4 separate regions of the Homo sapiens genome follow, and regions 1, 3 and 4 are each linked to region 2. The links are contacts of gene promoters, found by promoter capture Hi-C in blood cells and fetal thymus (Javierre and others, 2016). All regions are on one chromosome and are shown on one strand. Each heading gives the region's core, a stretch centred on a gene start or on the middle of the fragment in contact. The rest is flanking DNA. Distances are from core to core; before and after follow the strand shown.

Region 1 (4,597 bases), core at 183-2,682, 190 kb before region 2:
GCCCTTGGAGAATCTATATGGTAAAAAACCAAGGCTCCTGGCCAATAGCCCCAGCTGAGCAAACAACCAATAGCTAACACGAATAAAACAGGCACATAAGTGAGCAATCTTGAAAGTAAATCCTTCAGCCCCAATTGAATCATCCAACCTGCTGGGACAAAGAACAAATTCCAGCTGTCCCCACTGAGCCCTGCCAAAATTGCAGACTTGTGTGCAAAATAATTACAGCTCATTTAAGCAACTAAAGTTGTAGAGAGTTGATTATGCAGCAGTAAATAATGAGAACAGAATTTGGTATCTAAAGGCAGGGTGCTGTTATAATCAACATTTAAAACATTTGGCATTAATTTTGCAATTGGTGGTATAAATAATCCATAAGGACTTAAGGAGTCTCTTACTAAAAGGTGAAAGGATCATAAGGCAACTCTTGGTAAAGCTTTGAAGCACAGAGAGAAAAATATTTGAAGGACAGAGAGGAAACTGTTATCATACTTAGGTAAAACATGGATACTTATTATCCATTGCTCTAAAGTTTGGCAGCAGGACCACATGCTACAGCCTGGAAAATAGACTATTTAGTAATCTCATTATCTTCCTGGGTAAATTTCTAGGAAGACTATAGAAAATTCCAACCAATGATAAAATATGAAAAGAGAGTAGACAGCAGGATACTAGAGGAAGGGAATAGTAGAGAAAAGGGAAGGATAGGTGGAGATTTGCTAAAGGATACAAAATTACAGCTAGATAAAGGAATAAGTTACAGTGTTCTTTGCTACTGTAGGATGACTATAGTTAACAGTAATGTATAGATTCAAATTGCCAGAAGGAGGGTGTTGAACATTCCCAACATGAAGAAATGATAAATGTTTGAGATGATGATATGCTAATTACCTTGATCTGATCCCTATAACATTATTTATATCAGAATATTACTATGCACCTAAGGAATATGAACAATGACTATTTGTCAATTTAAAAGTACATAATTTTTTAAAGTTTCTTAAGTTTCTGAGAATTTAGAGGAAACAGAAAGAAACAAAACTTGTTGGGTTTGCAAATAAAGATGTTTCTCATGCACAGTCTCTCTCAACAAAGACTCTCAAGGTACAAAATGGCTTCAAGGAAGAAATCAAATCCAAGGTGCTATCAGGAAACCAATGCCTCAGGGTAAACCTCTTAAGAATGTAGCTGTAATACTTTTTGTTAGAACTCAGAAATATTTTAGGCTATACCCAACAAGATTTATAAATATCCTAAGGGCCTGACTCCTTAAAGTTAAGCAATAAGTCTTTTTAAGAATCTTAAGGGAATTGCCATACAGCAGTTATTAATACTGCTACCTCACAAGTGACCCATAATAAAGAAATGAATATGGATGTGACTTTTATCTAATGGAATTAATTTATAAACTGAAACATAAGAAACTCACCAAGTTTTAAAAAGGCATTCTATCAACATGTGCTAAAGGCTACAGAGCAAACAGAAATGAATAGACCTTTGGACCCTCAACTTCTTCCATGGAGGTATCAGACTAAGAAATGACATGTCTGCAAATTGTAGCTATGTCTTGCAGATAAAAAAGGATGATCAGAAAGTGGGGAAATGGCATCACAGGTTAGATCTAAGAGTCATGGAATTCATTCCCAGAAAATAGGACTGGCAACAGTGTCCAGATGAATTTCAGAATTTCTATGGACCAATGACTGTGATGTGTCTAATTTCCTCCTTTTTCACAAGGGAATGTCCATTGCTATTCCTATGCCCATCACATCATTGTCTTTTTGGGTGTCAGGAGCAGACAACCTGCTGGTATTATGCCTTAAAAGACTAGCAGCTTCCTCTTTCTGTTTCTTGGAATGTTTAGTCTTTGAAACCAGTCATGATGTTGTGAGAAAGTTTATAGAACCCCATGAAAAGGGCCACATGGAGAGATACTGACTCTCACAACCTATAGCCCTGACTCAGCTCCACTACAAATCAGCATCATTTTGCCAGCCGTGTAAATGAGCCAAATGGAAGTGGGTCCCTCAATTCTAGTTGAGCAGCTCAGTTGACATTGTATGGAGTTAAGACAAGCCAATCTTATAAGCCCTCTCCCATTTAAGAGATTAATGAGCAAAATAAATTATCATTGTCATTGTTATTTTTAATTACTGTTATGGGGGACATAAATATTGCTACACTTTCACATGTAGTTTCAGATGTTTTTCTTAGCTAGACCAAGAAGTCATTTATTCAATTAAAGTTAAGAGACATGTATTAGTTATCTCCTGAATGTCAGGGATATAAAAGACATTTAGGAGGAGTTAATGTATCGGTATAATAAATTACTTCCTTTCACGTTGTTGATTGTCCATTAGAGAAAATAAGATATGTACATAATCAGCTCAATATGTCAGAGCTCAGTAAGAAGTATAAGTAAAGCTTACAATGCTATGGTGTTTTGAAGAATGGAAATCAGGTAATACTTCATGAAACAGGTGAAAATAAAAAAAACTTTGATGGTAGACATTGGACAAAGAAGGAGATAATCTTTTCAAATAAGACCTTTTTTGATTCTTAGGCCGGTACAGGACCATTCTCCATAGGATCCCACTTTATAAGCTGTAAGTAAAGAAATGTGGTGCACAGAATGGCAAATTTATGTTTATCTTCTACTGCCTTTTTAATTAATGATGGCTATAGTATGATGATGGCAAACAAGGCCATTTTGTCACTGCAAATTATTTTCCTGTAGAAGTATTATTCTACTGTTTATTATTATAATATCTTTTAAACATAATTTTAACTCTTTCTTGTTTCTACTAATAAAAAAAGGAATTCAAGAGACCTATATGCCAGGATGGTAGGAAACTAGAGCCATATAGTAAGATAGAAAAAAATGTTTTGAATCACATTCATGTCGGCATGCTGCAGAAAATATTCTATACATTAGTGTTGGACACAAAAATCAGCTACTTTTCATGAAAGTTGATCAAGATGTTAAGTGTAGTTTATTTCTGAAACTTCCTGCTTACTTTTCATTTCTTTTCACAGTATAGAATTTAGTTTTCCTAATGTATACATATTCTGTATTTAAAAACCTCAAATGTTAGACTGCACAGTACCTTCTCCTAAATTTTTAACGAATGTGACATAAAATAGCAATACTCTAGTTAATTGAATATGCTATCTTGACCAGGATAGTTTCTCTGCCTACCTTGCGGTAAATTTTTCTGAAATTTGATATTAAAAAGGAAATTAAATCCATTAAAGGGATCTAGAAGATAGCAGCAGGGATGTCTATTAATCTATCCTGCTGTTATAATAAAATTATAAAACATGTAAACTCTGTGACATGATGATATAAATAACCTTTCAATCAGGTAAAAAAAAGTTACAACAAATTGTTAAAAGTAAAAAAGAAAAGGTGAAATGATGAAAGCAAATTTAAATAGATTATATGACTTTGGCCATGAACAAGTACTCCCATGAATTGGATTTAGGGATGGACTTTGTATACTATGTAAACTCCTCAGATTGTAAGCAAGTTTTTTTTTTCCTGTATATGTGCATGAGGAGAGTTTCATGCATTAGATACATAGCTTTCAACAGATTCTCAAAAAACCATGTGCTGCAAAATGTGATCTAGAGTGATTAAGGTGACTATTTACGGCTATACCACTGGTCAGGCCAACTACTTGACTCTGTATACAGATGGTAACTTTATGAACTAAATATTTACCAATAAACACCATCATAACACCTTAAACTATAGGAAAAACATGCAGCAATGTCATAAAAGGCAGTTTTTCTTAGTTTCAGTTGAGGCACAAAAGCTGAGAGAATAAAATATGTGAACTGCTCTTAAAAAATAAAAATTTTGAGAAAAAAGGGGTGGAAATATAATCTTTGGAGGAAGCTCTTGACTTTCTTAATGTTTTATCTCTCCCCAAGAGTAGAAAACTGCTTCAAGATATTGATATATATCTGCTGGAGATAAAGGAACACAGTGGATTGCTATCTGAGCTCACCTGAGAAATCTGAATGTAGAAATCTGCAGTTACTGGCCTGAAATACCAGTACACAGAGAAATATGTCAGCACTTCAACTGACTATGGGTAGCAAGGATTGTCAAAATTTTCTTTTGGATCACATATTGACCATTTAGGAGAAATTGTCATTGTGGAATCACTTAAAAATAACATTTTGTCCAATAAGACCTTTAGAAAACATGGGACCCAGATAAATGTTGAAACCTCAGAATTAGGAGGAAACTTTACAAGCTGTCAGCTAGAGGCAGATTCAACCATATCACAGGAAATGTGGTAGAAGTTCCGAGTAAGGAATTATTTCAGCAGCCATGAAAGCTCCCTGCATAAGAAAGACTCAGTGTGCAACATCTGAAAGCAGTATTGCCAGAGCATGACTGTGGCAATGAAGCAAGATGTTCCCTCCACCTATCCCTCCCTCCCCAGTATAATGCTTGAAGGGTCAGTCACTGAAATAAGTAGAGAGAAAAGTGTTTGCTGAAAGAGCTAATACATAAGTCAACCTTCACTGGTACCAATGAAGGCTTCCCAGTTCAAAATTCAACACCCAGAAAAGGCAGAAATTT
Region 2 (4,296 bases), core at 1,481-3,980:
GCAACAGCTGGCCAGACCCAAGGCTGGGGCGACTGGACAGCCAGGCTTCTGGCCTCACTGCAGAGAGCAGAAAAAGTGTTCTGATGAAGAAACTTACACACAACTTACATCCACATACACACATCCACATGAATATGCACAGTTATCTTTTTCCTGCCTCTAAGAAACTATTACCCAGCAACCCCCCTGCTTCTTGTCCTCTTTCTTGTCCTGAGTTTGAAGGGTGGGAACAGAAGGGGCAGTACTTGAATAGAAAAATCTTAGAGGAAGGGGCTGAAACTACTGACCTTGCCTGTGTACATACATCTTCCCTGCATCCAGGAGACCCAAGAGAAATCGGGGGCAAGTGCTTCTTATGAGATTATACACTGTTTCTGTGACGCCTTCATACTGATGATTGAGTAGATGACAGACACTTTGGGCCAAACTTCCACAGCCTGGAGATGGCACCCATGTTGTATTCTGGAAACTCAGTAAATCTAATCCGTTGAAAGCTACCTGAAAGAAGCCTTCTGGGCTCTTTCCAGAATGCAGCTCACAGCCCGCTTTCACCTGTACTTCAAAGGGATCTGGAGGAAGGGAGGAATGAGAAAAAGAGTTCAAACAAAAAAGTGAAAACAACAGTATAAAAACCTAGGGCTGTATCAGGAAGTGAAGCAAGAAAGTTTTACATGGATGTGAGAGTGAGCCAAAGACATATTTGATCAGAAACAAGAGAGAAAAATTGCTGGGGATAGGGAAGGGGACAATAAGAGATAAATGCCTTGAATTAACAAGAAAAAGTGGCCAAGGAAGATGTGGAAAAATGATAGGTGAGCCACATAATATAGGATAGAGGGTGAAGGGGGAGCCTTTGTGAGGGAGGTAGGAGGATAGCATTCCATGACGCATGAAATTGGTCATAATGGTCATTGAACTGTGGACATAGATCTTTGAAGAAATTGAATGGGGGAATAGATTTTATTTTAAGGGAGTCAAGCACAGAGTGGGACAGCTGTGTATCTCTGGATTGTAGGATACAGAGGGAGACCACAGGTGGAAGATAACAAAGCACAAGAAAAAAAATTCCAAAAATAGCAAGAGCCTAGGAAATTTGAGGGAGTCAACATCAGGAATATCCCTTAAAAGGTTCATCTATGCAGAATTTTATGGTGGGATGGGATAATGGGAAATGGCCCAAAAATTAGTAGAGAATATTTCCCTGAAATAGAACATTCTAAAGAACTCCCATAATTTAGATGATTGAACTTACATTTCGAGTAATCTTGACTTGCATGGTCTTGAATCTCCCGAGTTAATCCAAAGAGGTAGAAACGAAATAACAACTCTAGGTCTGACAACTCTTCATTGCTGAAGTTGCCCTTGGACCAGTTATGCAGGAAAATTATTGTGCCTGATTCACTGTCCCAGCCATGAGTCTGCAACTCGTCCAGCCATCCTGAGCCCTGACCTCGTGCCCAGGATTGGTTGACAAATGAGAAGATCTGGATGACATGGAAGGAGACGTGTTCCTGGGATGCTTTTGGTGGAAGAAGGGCAAGTAGTGTAAGGAAAAAAAAAAAAAGAGAGGCAAGGAAAATGGAGAGAAAATGGAAGGTGAACCAGTTACCACAGAGAAACATTAATGACTACTTTAGCTATACCATTTTCCTTACACAGAGCCCCATGCTCTGCCACCATCCTCTAAAAGAGTAAACTGGACCTGGAGAGAGGTATGCTCAAATGGCAACCATTCTGGCTTCTTCATTGATCCATCTTGGGAAAGCCCATCATGCTCAACCCAGATACATGTAACCTTGCAGCTGACAGAGATGTTCATACTATCTGCATTGTCACCACCGGGGAGGAGAAGAACTAGCAGCGGAAACTACAGAAACAGCATGTCATTTGCAGTTGTTTCCTTCTCTCAGAAAAGCCATTTGCTGATCTCTGTTCTTAGCAAACTTATCCCTCTACATCTATATTCTGACTTCCTTCTACCAACAGACAATCTTCCCCATCAGCCACTGACAGCAACTAAGACAATCTGCTTCCCTTAACCTTAGGCCTCCTACTCAATCTCTCATTTCCCCATCTGCTCTGAACTAAAGTTACTCTCTTCCCTTAGGATTTTAGCTGCTCTCCCACTAAGCTCCATCTTATCTACTTCCCTTCCTCAACTGCCTTAGACAAAGTGGTGCGTGGCATTGAAAGGTTGCTTCATCCCTCTGGACCTTGCGTGTCATTTGTAACATAAAAAGGAGAAACCACATCATTTTCCTGGGCCCTGATTGTTTTAACGGAAAATGGAGAGGAAATGGAAATTGAACCAGTTACCACAGAGAAACATTAATGACTACTTTAGCTATAACATTTTCCTTACACAGAGCCCATGCTCTGCCACCATCCTCCAAAAGAGTAAACTGGACCTGGAGACAGGTATGCTCAGATGGCAAGCATTCTGGCATCTCTATTGATCCATCTCGGGAAAGCCCAGCACACTCTACCCAGATACATGTAACCTTGCAGCTGACAGCGATGTTCTTACCGTCTGCATTGTCACCACCTGGGAGAAGAAGAGCTAGCAGCAGAAACTGCAGAAACAGCATGTCATTTGCAGATGTTTCTTTCTCTCAGAAAAGCTGTTTGCTGATCTCTGTTCTTAGCAAACTTATCCCTCTGTACCTATATTCTGACTTCCTTCTACCAACAATCTTCCCCATCAGCCGCTGACAGCAACTAAGAAGATCTGCTTCCCTCAACCTTGGTCCTCCTACTCAATCTCTCATTTCCCCACCTGCTCTGAACTAAAGTTATTCTCTTCTCTCAGGATTCCAGCTGCTCTGCCACTAAGCTCCATTATATCTACTTCCCTTCCTCAACTGCCTTAGACAAAGTGGTGTATGGCATTGAAAGAAAGGTCATTTTGTCCCTCTGGATTTTGCATGTCATTTGTAAGATAAAAAGGAGAAACCATGTCATTTTTTCAGTTCCTGCTTGTTTTAATAGATCACAGTTCTTCCAGTTTCTCCACTTAACTTTGCCTCCACTCTCCATAGTGTCCCCTCTTCTCATCACTCCATTCTTTCTTTCCCCCTTTTGAATGTCCTCAAAGTTTTCTCTTTCCAATTTCACCTCTTTTCACCCATCTTTCTTATTTCCTCATTCTCACTGATTCTTTTATAAATTGGAGACGTTGCTTTTTACATCTTCCAAGATTTCCCTGCACAATTATATAAACTACAGTCCACTCTACATTATCCTTAGAGATTAAATTGCAGCCATTCAGAATGCATAGGACCATAACAAATATAAAGAAGCCCTTCTACTGCATTTAATCTGTATAGTCATTCACTAAAAAATTACATAGTACATGGTTGATACCAGTGTCTTACTAGGCATATAAACACACAGAGGTTAACAATGTAATCTCTTCTATCAAAGAGTTTTAAACTGCAGATGTTTAAACAAAAAATTAAAATGCATTGTGATTTTAATTTCAATGTATAGAATCCCAGATACAAATCTACTTAGAACTATATTCTCTAGAGCAGCATTTTGACTGACTAACCCCCTGGGAAGTTCATAATTTGAAGTCCTGGAAGAACAGCATGCATCTCAACTAAATACTGAAAATTCTGTACAGTGTGGAATGGTATACGATTGTGATAGTCAGAACATGCAGCTTTTCAAGAGGACTCATACATGGGGAGACCACAAAAATCCAAATTTAAGTTGTTTTGTGATCTGACCAAAACACATTGTATAAAAAGGGCAGCATTTGTCAATGTTTGATTTAAGTAGTTTATATGAAGTATTCAGTGACTTATCAGTGACCCTGGCTGGTTAATATGTGTAAATACATGAACACAGTTTTTTTGAGATCCAGGAAATACATTTATTATTATAGTGTTTCTTAAATCATATTAATTATTCACTGAATGCATTGGAGCAGTCACTTAAAATCTGGGCATGAATTTGTGCTAGGCACAATGACTCATGCCTGTAATCCCAGCACTTTGGGAGACCAAGGTGGGAAGATCACTTGAGCCCAGGAGTTTGAGACCAGCCTGGGCAACAAAGTTAGACCTCATCTCGATAAAAAAATTAAAAAGTTGGCCAAATGTGGTGGCACATGCCTGTAGTCCCAGCTAAATGGGAGGCAGAGGCAGGAAGATCTTTTGAGCCCTGAAAGTCAGGGCTGTAGTGAGCCATGTTCATGTCACTGTACTCCAGCCTGGGTAACAGAGCAAGACCGTGCCTTAAAAAGGAAAATCCCATTTGTAACATTGTTTCTGTTTTAAATTTATATTTATT
Region 3 (4,287 bases), core at 1,183-3,682, 210 kb before region 2:
TTATAATAAACATGAGATTGTTAACATCACTTTAAAATCCCAATTTTAATTATTTTGAATATATGCCCAGAATAGAAATTGATACAGTATTAGTCAAACTCATAGAAACAGAGAGTAGAACAGTGGTTGCCAGTCTGCAGGGGAGGAGAAAATGTGAGTTCCATTTTGTTGAATATAAGTTTCAGTTATATAAGATAAACAAATTCTAGAAACCAACTGTACAACATTGTGATTTGATATAGTCTGAATATTTGTTTCCACCTAAATCTCATGTTGAATTATAAATCCCCAATGCTGGAAGTGGGACCTGGTGGGAGGTGTTTGGATCATGGGGATGAGTCCCTCATAGCTTGGTACTTTCTTTGTGATAGTGAGGTGAGTTCTCAAAAGATATGGTCAGTTTAAAGTGTTGCACTTTCCCTTCCACTCTGTCTCTCTCTTGCTCCTGCTCTGGCCAAGTGATGTGCCTGCTCCCACTACCTTTTGCCATGATTGAAAGCTCCTTGAGGCTTTACCAGAAGCTAAGCAGTTGCCAGCACCATGCTTTCTGTAAAGTTTGCAGAACCATGGGCCAATTAAACCTCTTTTCTTTATAAATTACCCAGTCTCAGGTATTTCTTTATAGCAAGGCAAGAATGGGATAACACAAGAAATTGGTACAGAGGAGTGGGGTATTACAATAAAGATATCTGAAAGTGTAGAAGCAGCTTTGGAACTGGGTAATGGGCATAGAATGGAAGAGTTTGAGGGCTCAAAAGAAGACGGAAGTTGAGGTTTAGTTTAGAACTTCTTAGAGACTGGTAAAATGGTTGTAACCCAAATGCTGACGTGTGATATAGACAGTGAAGTCCAGACTGAGGAGGCCTCAGATGGAAATGAGGAACATACTGGGAACTGAAGTAAAGGTCACTTTTGATATGCCTTAGCAAAGAACTTGGCTGCCTTCTGTTCATGCCCTAGGGATCTGCGGAAGTTAAAGTTTTGAAATGATAATTTAGGGTATCTGATGAAGGAAATTTCTAAGCAGCCAAGCATTCAAGATGTGGCCTGGCTGCTTCTAACAACCTAACTCAGATGTGGGCACAAAGGAATACCTTAAAGCTGAAACTTATATTTAAAAGGAAAGTAGAGAATAAAAGTTTGAGAAATCTGCAGCCTGGCAATGTGGCAAAGGAAGAAAAAGCTCTTGAGGGGAGAAGAATTCAAGCAGGTTGTGGAACAACCACTTTACTAAAGAAATTTGCATACTTAAGTGGGTCAGGCGTGGTGGCTCACGCCTGTAATCCCAGCACTTTGGGAGGCTGAGGTGGACGGATCACAAGGTCAGTAGATCGAGACTGTCCTGGCTAACATGGTGAAACCCCATCTCTACTAAAAATACAAAAAAAAAATTAGCTGGGTGCGGTGGTGGGCGCCTGTAGTCCCAGCTACTCTGGCTGAGGCGGGAGAATGGCGTGAACCTGGGAGGCATAGCTTGCAGTGAGCCGAGATCATGCCACTGCACTCCAGCCTGGGTGACAGAGCAAGACTCCATCTCAAAAAAAAAAAAAAAAAAAGAAAAAAAAAGAAATTTGCATACCTATGAAGGAGCCAAGTGCTGATAGTCAAGACAATGGGGGAAAAGCCTTGAAGGCATCTCAGAGACCTCTGTGGCAGCCCCTTCCATTAAAGGCCCAGAATCCCTACTGCCACACACACAGCTTCATGACACTGCTCCCTGCATCCTGCTGCTCCAGCTTCAACTGGGGCTCAAAGGGGCCCAGGTACTGCTCAACATGCTACTTTGGAGAGTTCAAGCCACTGTAAGCCTTGGCAATTTGCACATGATTTTAAGCCTGTAGGCACACAGAGTTCAGAGTGAATGAGAATTTGCACCATCTGCCTAGATTTCAGAGGACATATGGAAAAGCCTGAGTGCCCAGACAGAGGCCTGCTGCAGGGGTGGGGAACCCCACAGGGAACCTCTACTATGGCAATGCAGAGGGGAAATGTGGGTTTGCCCCCCGCCCCAGAGTTCCCACTGGGGCACTGCCTAGTGGAGCTGTGAGAAGGGGACCGCCATCCTCCAGACCCCAGAAAGGAAGATCCACTGTCAGCTTGCCCTCTGCACCTGGAAAAGCCAAGAACACTCAACACCAACCCGTGGAAACAGCCATGGGTATTCAACCCTGCAAAGCCATAGGGATACAGCTGCCCTAAGCCTTGAGAGCCATGACTGACACCTCTCTGAGGAGCTTGCAGCAGTGTGACCTGGATGTAGAATATGGAGTCAAAGGATATTATTTTGGAGCTTTAAGATTTAATGACTGCCCTCCTGGCTTTAGGACTTGCTTGGGGCCTATAGCCCCTATTTTTTTGGCCAATTTCTTTCTTTTAGGATAGCAACGTTTACCCAATACCTGTATCCCTATTGTATCTTGGAAGTAAATAACTTGGTTTTGATTTTATAGGTTCATGAATGAAAGGGACTTTCCTTGTCAAAGATGAGACTCTGGACTTCGGACTTGTGAGTTAACACTGGAACAAGTTAAAACTTTGGAGGACTCTTAGGAAGGCATAAATATATTTTGCAATGTGAGAAGGACATAGATTTGGGAGGAGCCGGAGAAATATTGATATAGTTTGGATATTTGTCCCCACACAAATCTTACGTTGAATTGTAATCACCAGTGCTGAAGGTGGGAGGTGTTTCGGTCATGGGGGTGAACTTCGCATGACTTGGTCTATTTTTATGATAGTGAGTAAGTTCTCACAAGATCTTGCCATTTCAAAATTTGCAGCACCTTCCCCCAACTCTCTCTCTCCTGTTCTGGTCATGTGATGTGCCCGCTCCTGCTTCACCTTCCACCATGATTGAAAGTTCCCTGAGCCTTCACCAGAAGCCAAGTGGATGCCAGCACCATGCTTCCTGTAAATTCTGCAAATCATGAGCCAACAAAACCACTTTTCTTTATAAATTACCCAATCTCAGGTATTTCTTTATAGCAATGCAAGAATGGCATAATATATGATTACAGTTACCAATACCTTTTGATCAGGGGGTGGATTCATGTTAAATGTTCTTATCACACACAAAAAAAGTCAGTGTTGACCTAGTTGAAAAACTAGCTTATTTGTGACTCATGCTATATTAAAAAACAACTACTGAATAAATCAAGAGTGCTATTGTTTTTTCTGAGTGAAATTGTAATTGACCTATGTAACCCTTGTTTCAAATGTCCTTGTTAGAATTTTCAGAAAAATTTTAGTGGAGTATATTTTATAAACATCTCCTGACATTAACATAATTCTAGGGCTCATAGGGATGAATAAATCTAAATTCTGTCAAAATTTTAAAAAGAAAGAAAATTAAGAATGTAATTGCCTTTTAGCTCCAAATCTACCTTTACTTGTCCTGATTGTGTTACTGGAATGTTTCTCCTTTACCAGCAGACATGATGTTAAGCTCTTCTGTAGAAGGCGTGAAGGGACACTGAAGTTAAAACGGAGTTCTCTTCCCATTTCTGGCTGCTTTCATCTGCCTGGACATGCTGTGTGTGTGAAGTCTAGTAACAAGTAGGACGCCCAGTAGTGCTACTTCCCAGGCAGTACCATCATCAAAGGTATTTTGCCAGAAGGTTGCAAACAGAAGCATCCTCCCATAGATGCCCCCCACCCACAGAGTACTTCAGAGAGTGGTTTTCCAGCAAGTTCTAAAGTATAGCTCTTCCTTATGGATGGCTTCCCATGAGGACTAAGAGGGCAGAATCCAGAAGGCATTACATTGATTTCAAGAAATGTTTATTAAGCTATACTTTTAGTATTAGTATAAAGATGAACAAATAGATTAATGGAACAAAACAGAACACTCAGAAATAGAAACACATATGTATAATTAATTTTCTACAAAGCCTCAAGGCAATTTAATGGTAGAAGAATACTCTTTCCAATAATAATGCATTTGGATAGAAAAGAATCTTGAAATTTTTTCACACCATTTACAAAAATTAACTAGAGATGAATCACATCCTGCTTGTAAGAACTAATATTATTAAAAAGAACATTAGATAGAACCTTAGTGAGCTTGAATTTTTCAGAAACTTATTAAGTATGACAGAAAACACTTGAACTATAAAAGTCAAAGTCAATAAGTTGGACTTTATCAAAACCAAAGGAAACTTCTGCTCTTCAAAAGACATGGTAGAAAATTAAAAGCAAGTTACAATATAGTGAAAATATTTGCGTAATATACAAGTAACAAAAATATATATACCTGGAAAACATAAAGAACTCTTACATTTCAATTAT
Region 4 (4,928 bases), core at 1,711-4,210, 230 kb before region 2:
AGAGAACTGCTCATAGAATTTCTTGTAGTTCTCTTTATCTTCTGCCAGTTTGGTAAAGAGTTCTAAGCATTTTTTGACCAAATTTTTCCTGATAACTTCCAAAATTTTGCTTTGTCACAACATCTCATGGGAAATATTTAGACGGAGATCCTCTGAGTCCACCACCTTTCCAATGAAGTTCAGATACGCAGGGATTAGCTCCTCACAGTTATCCGTGATGGAAACTCTGTGTACATACAATTTGATGTTCTTTTTCTCTCTCTTTCCAAACAAGTCAAAAGGAGCATGTTGTGGGACAAATAGAAGGGCTCTGAATTCCAAGTGTCCTTCAACTGAAAAATGCTTCACTGCCAATGATCTTCCCAGTCATTGGTCAAGCTCTTGTAGAATTCTTACTCCTCATTAGTAATATCATCAGGATTTCTGGTCCAGATGGGCTTTGTTTTGTTGAGTTTTTCTTGATCGATGTACTTTTCCTTAATCTTCTTATTCTTTTTGTCACCATCCTTCTTTTCTTCTTCTTCTTCATCAGAACCAACATCTTCAATTTCAGGTTTGTCTTCGGACTCTTTCTCTTCTTTTTCATTTTCTTCTTCTTTATCTTCCTTTTCTTCAGCTTCATCATCTCTGACTTCTTTATCATGTTCCTTCTCCACAAAAAGAGTAATGGGATATCCAATAAACTGAGAATGTTTCTTCAAAAATGTTTTTATTCTTCATTCCTCCAAGTACTCATTTGGTCTTCCTTCAGGTGTAGGATAACCTTTGTTCCACGACCCATAGGTTCACTCGTCTGTCCTCACTGTGAATGATCCCCCTGCTGAGGACTCCCAGGTGTACTGCTCATCATTGTTATGTTTGCTGATCACAGTTACTTTCTTGGCAACCAAATAAGCAGAATAAAAACCAACCCCGAAATGGCCAATCATAGAGATATCTGCATCAGCCTGCAAAGCTTCCATGAATGCTTTGGTCCCAGACTTGGTGACAGTACCGAGGTTATTGATCAAGTCAGTCTTGGTCATTCCAATTCTAGTGTCCACAATAGTGAGGGTTTGATTTTGTTTGTTTGGTACAAGGTTAATATGCAGCCCTTTCCCAGAGTCTAATTTACTGGAATCCATCAACCTTTCATATCAGATTTTGTCCAATGCATCTGATGAATTTGAAATTAGTTCTCTCAGAAAGATCTCTTTCTTCGAGTAGAAAGTATTGATGATCAGTGACATCAACTGGGCAATTTCTGCCTGAAAGGTGAATGTCTCAACCTCCTCCTCCTCCATCGATTTGTCTTGGGTCTCGGTTTCCTCAGGCATCTTGGCTAAGGGACCACAAGGGCTCCACAGCACATCAGTACCAGGATGCTGAAGCACCTCGGCTTTTATTTTTTATTTATTTATTTTTCTTAAAATCCATTCAGCCACTCTGTATCTTTTGACTGGAAAATGTAATTCATTTACATTTAAAGTAATTATTGATAGGTAAAGGATTTACTACCGGCATTTTGATTTTTGCTGACTGCTTTGTAGTTCTTTTATTTCTTTTTTCCAATCTTCCTATCTTTCTTTATAATTTGTTGAATTTTGATAGGTGCACACTTTGATTCATGTCTTTGTTTTTTATGTATCAACTAGAGTTGTTTTTCTACTTGGTTATCATGGGGCTTATATAAAACATCTTATAATTATAACATTCTAATTTAAGCTGCTAACAACTGAAATTGCATACAAAAACTCTACACTTTTACTTCACTCTGCCCACATTTTATGTTATTCATGTCACACTTCACATCTTTCTAGATTGTGTATTCATTGCCAAATTAGAATAGATATAGTTATTTTCAATATTTCTGTGTTTTAAGCTTTTATAATAGAATTTAAAATGATTTACACAGTGCCATTACAGTATTAGATTATTCCAGATTTGACTATTTACTTTTACTAGTGGCTTTTTTAACTATTAACTTCTTAAAAATGTTTCATGTTATCTATTTCTTTATTTTAGAGATGTGATGTCGCTATGTTACACAGGCTGGTCTTACACTCCTGAGGTCAAATGATCCTCCCACCTTGGCTTCCCTAAGTGATGGGATTACAGGCATGAGCCACGGCACCTGGCTTTAACATCTTTTTGTTACAACTTGAAGAACTCTAGTATTTTTTTTTTTTTTTTTTTTTTTTTTTACATTTTACTTTAAGTTCCGGGATACAAGTGCAGAATGTGTAGGTTTGTTACATAAGTATATGTGTGCCATGGTGGTTTGCTGCACCTACCAACCCGTCATCTAAATTTTAAGCCCTGCATGCATTAGCTATTTGTCCTAATGCTCTCCCTCCCTCCCCTTGCCCCCCAACCCCACACGGGCCGTGGTGTGTGTTGTTCCCCTCCCTGTGTCCATGTATCCTCATTGTTCAACTCCTACTTATGAGTGAGAACATGCAATGTTTGGTTTTCCATTCCTGTGTTACCTTTGTCTGAGTATGTCTTTATTTCTGCTTCATTTCTGAGAGAGATTTTTTACGTATAGTATTCTTGGGCAGTTTTTATTTTTTTCTTTCTGCTCTTTGGCTATATCATCCCACACCATCCGGGCATATAAAATTTTTTTTTTTAGGTTTTGTTTTGTTTTTGCCAAGTCTGCTGATATCCTTAAAGGGGTTCCCTTTTAGGTGACAAGTTTCTTTTTACTGCTGCTTTCAAAAGTCTCTTTTTGTGTTTGACTTATAATAAGTTGATTATAATGTGCTTCAGAGTGTTACTGTTGGGGTTGATATTGTTTGGACATTTTGATTTCCATGAAACTGTATTGAGTCTATGTCTCTCCCATGATTTTGGAAGTTTTCAGCCAGTATTTCTTTAAATAAGCTTTATGCCTCTTTATTTGCTTCTTTTTCCTTCTGAGACACCGGTAGTTTATTATTGTTTTTCTAATTTCAATTCATTTTCTATGTGCATTTCCTTGCATTTCTTCAAGATCCTTAAGATGGTTATTTTGAATTCTTTCTCAGGCAATTCCTAGATCTCTATTTCTTTGTGATTTACTACTGAAGCTTTACTAGTTTCTTTTGGTGGTGTCACATTTGCCTAATTCTTCATTATCTGTATAGATTGCATTGATGTCTGCGCATTGATGTCTGAATAAACATCTTTTCTGGCATTTAAACACTGCTTTTGGCAGATAAAAGCTTTCTCCTGTTGAGCCTCTATGCTGGTGAGATTGCCCCCAGGATCCTAGTAAAGTGGGTTTCGAGCTAGATCATGTGGCTGCCTCTTCATCTACAATGGGATCTGTGCTTAATAGACCTGTTACCAGGGCCTCCAGTGGGTATGGATTCTGTCTGGTTCCCCCCGGGTGGACTGAATTACCTCCAGTACATTGGGCAGTAGGGTTGGTGCTAGAATGAGGATCCATTTCAGAGTCCACAGATGGTAGGCCTGTTACTAGGTTTGTGGATGGGTATGGTTTCCTCCAGGTCTTTGGGAGAGCTCCCATTAAGTGACTGGGTAGGTCCCTTTGCAGGCAGTACTTGTCCTGGCCTACAGTTGAGAGGAGATGAATATAAGTCACAGGGCTGCAGTAAAGACAAAGATCTGCAGGCCTGCCTCTGAGGTCAAGGTTTGGTGTATCCCCCATTTGGTCCCTGGTCAGGCAAAACTGCCCTCAGACCACACCTGAGAGGGGATGAATCCAAGTTACAAGGCTGTGTCAGGATCCTCTGTGAGACTGATGGCAGCAGGTCTGCCTCTGAGGGTCATAGACAAGCTCGTCCTTCTCTTGGTTCTTGAATGGACAAGCCTACTCTCAGACCACAGCTATTAATGCCTGGAGTTGAGTTTCAGAGCCATTTCAAGTTCCACACCTGGGACCGAGGTCAACAAGCTTGTTTTCTGAAGCACTAGTATATGTGACTCCTCCTGGGCTCCTTGACTGATGGCAAAATAAGGCTGTATCCAAGTCCACAATAAAACAAGGCCATTGCTAAGTCTAGAGCTGAGACCACTGTTGGCAGGTCTGCCCCCTCAAAATGGCTTTCCTACATCTTGATCTTCACTAGGGTTTCACAATCTCCTATCTAAATCTCAAGGCTCCCACAAAGAGGTATTTTCCCATTGATGGCTGTGAACTTATTGCTGCTGTCAAGGAATGTAAGCAGTGGGCTTTCTGTTTCACCATCTTTCTCTCCTTTTGTCTCTCACTATTTTTAAAATTTTCTTTTTATCATTAGTTTTTAATAATTGAATTCTTATATTCTTATATGTTCTAGCATAATTTTGGTTTTTATTCTGCTTGAAATTTCTGACATTTTTGGGTTTGGGGGTTTATAAGGGATCTCAATTACATGAATATTTGACAGCTTGGCACTTTACCGTAGTCATCAAGCCTCTGTTTTTGTTTTGTTGTTGTTGTCGTTATTTGGGGTTTTTGAAGTTTTGCTATAATTACAGGTTGTTTTGTTGGCTATGTGTTTAAGTTAATTGACCTTTTCTTTGGCAGTGTCTGCAGCTAATCCTGCTTAATGTATTTTTAAAATTCAGATAATATTTTTTATTTCTATTAATTATACTTGATGGCTGTTGGGAATATAAACTCTTCTTTGTGTGAACTCTAGGACTTGTTTAGTCTATTGCTTCCAGTAGTTGTTCATCTTCTACAAGAAGTTTACTCTAACAAATGTACGAATTAGCACTCTTCCAAAGATTTGAGGAGATCCCTTTGCAGCTATTAGACCTCCCTATGTGTGTGCTAATCCCTTCTCTTTAGTTATCTGTCTTGAAATGGCCCCTTTGTCTTCTCTATACTCTAATCTTTATCTAATCTAGTCTCCTTAATACTCTATGTAATCTAGTCTTCTCTATAATCTTTATCTAATCTAATCCTTAATTCAGTAAGACTACTTGATATATTTTGGTGTCCTCTGCTGCCTCTC

What was found. The method cuts DNA at HindIII sites, captures the fragments that hold promoters and counts their contacts. A CHiCAGO score of 5 or more calls a contact.
Region 1: a contact is called between a fragment that was not itself captured here and the fragment with the promoter of CD1C in region 2, in 2 of 17 cell types (fetal thymus and M1 macrophages). The highest score is 12.8, in fetal thymus.
Region 3: a fragment that was not itself captured here is called in contact with the fragment with the promoter of CD1C in region 2 in 1 of 17 cell types (fetal thymus); the score reaches 5.1 in fetal thymus.
Region 4: a contact is called between a fragment that was not itself captured here and the fragment with the promoter of CD1C in region 2, in 1 of 17 cell types (fetal thymus). The highest score is 5.8, in fetal thymus.

The regions. Positions count from the first base shown.
Region 1 is chr1:158,481,142-158,485,738 of GRCh38, reverse strand. All of the region lies in intron 2 of LOC107985213 (a long non-coding RNA gene), which reads left to right. Among named protein-coding and RNA genes, the nearest start is that of OR10R2, 11 kb to the right of the region's middle. The HindIII fragment of the contact is 1,988 bases long and covers 439-2,426 here.
Region 2 is chr1:158,288,357-158,292,652 of GRCh38, reverse strand. It overlaps CD1C (CD1c molecule), which reads right to left and starts at 2,730. Exons shown (of 6, transcript NM_001765.3): 1 at 2,528-2,730; 2 at 1,253-1,519; 3 at 288-569; 4 at 1-57. The coding sequence starts at 2,588. It also overlaps a transcript of CD1B not described here. The HindIII fragment of the contact is 9,220 bases long and covers 1-4,296 here.
Region 3 is chr1:158,499,171-158,503,457 of GRCh38, reverse strand. No RefSeq gene overlaps it. Among named protein-coding and RNA genes, the nearest start is that of OR10R2, 29 kb to the right of the region's middle. The HindIII fragment of the contact is 6,418 bases long and covers 1-4,287 here.
Region 4 is chr1:158,520,060-158,524,987 of GRCh38, reverse strand. It overlaps the pseudogene HSP90AA3P. Among named protein-coding and RNA genes, the nearest start is that of OR6Y1, 32 kb to the left of the region's middle. The HindIII fragment of the contact is 185 bases long and covers 2,868-3,052 here.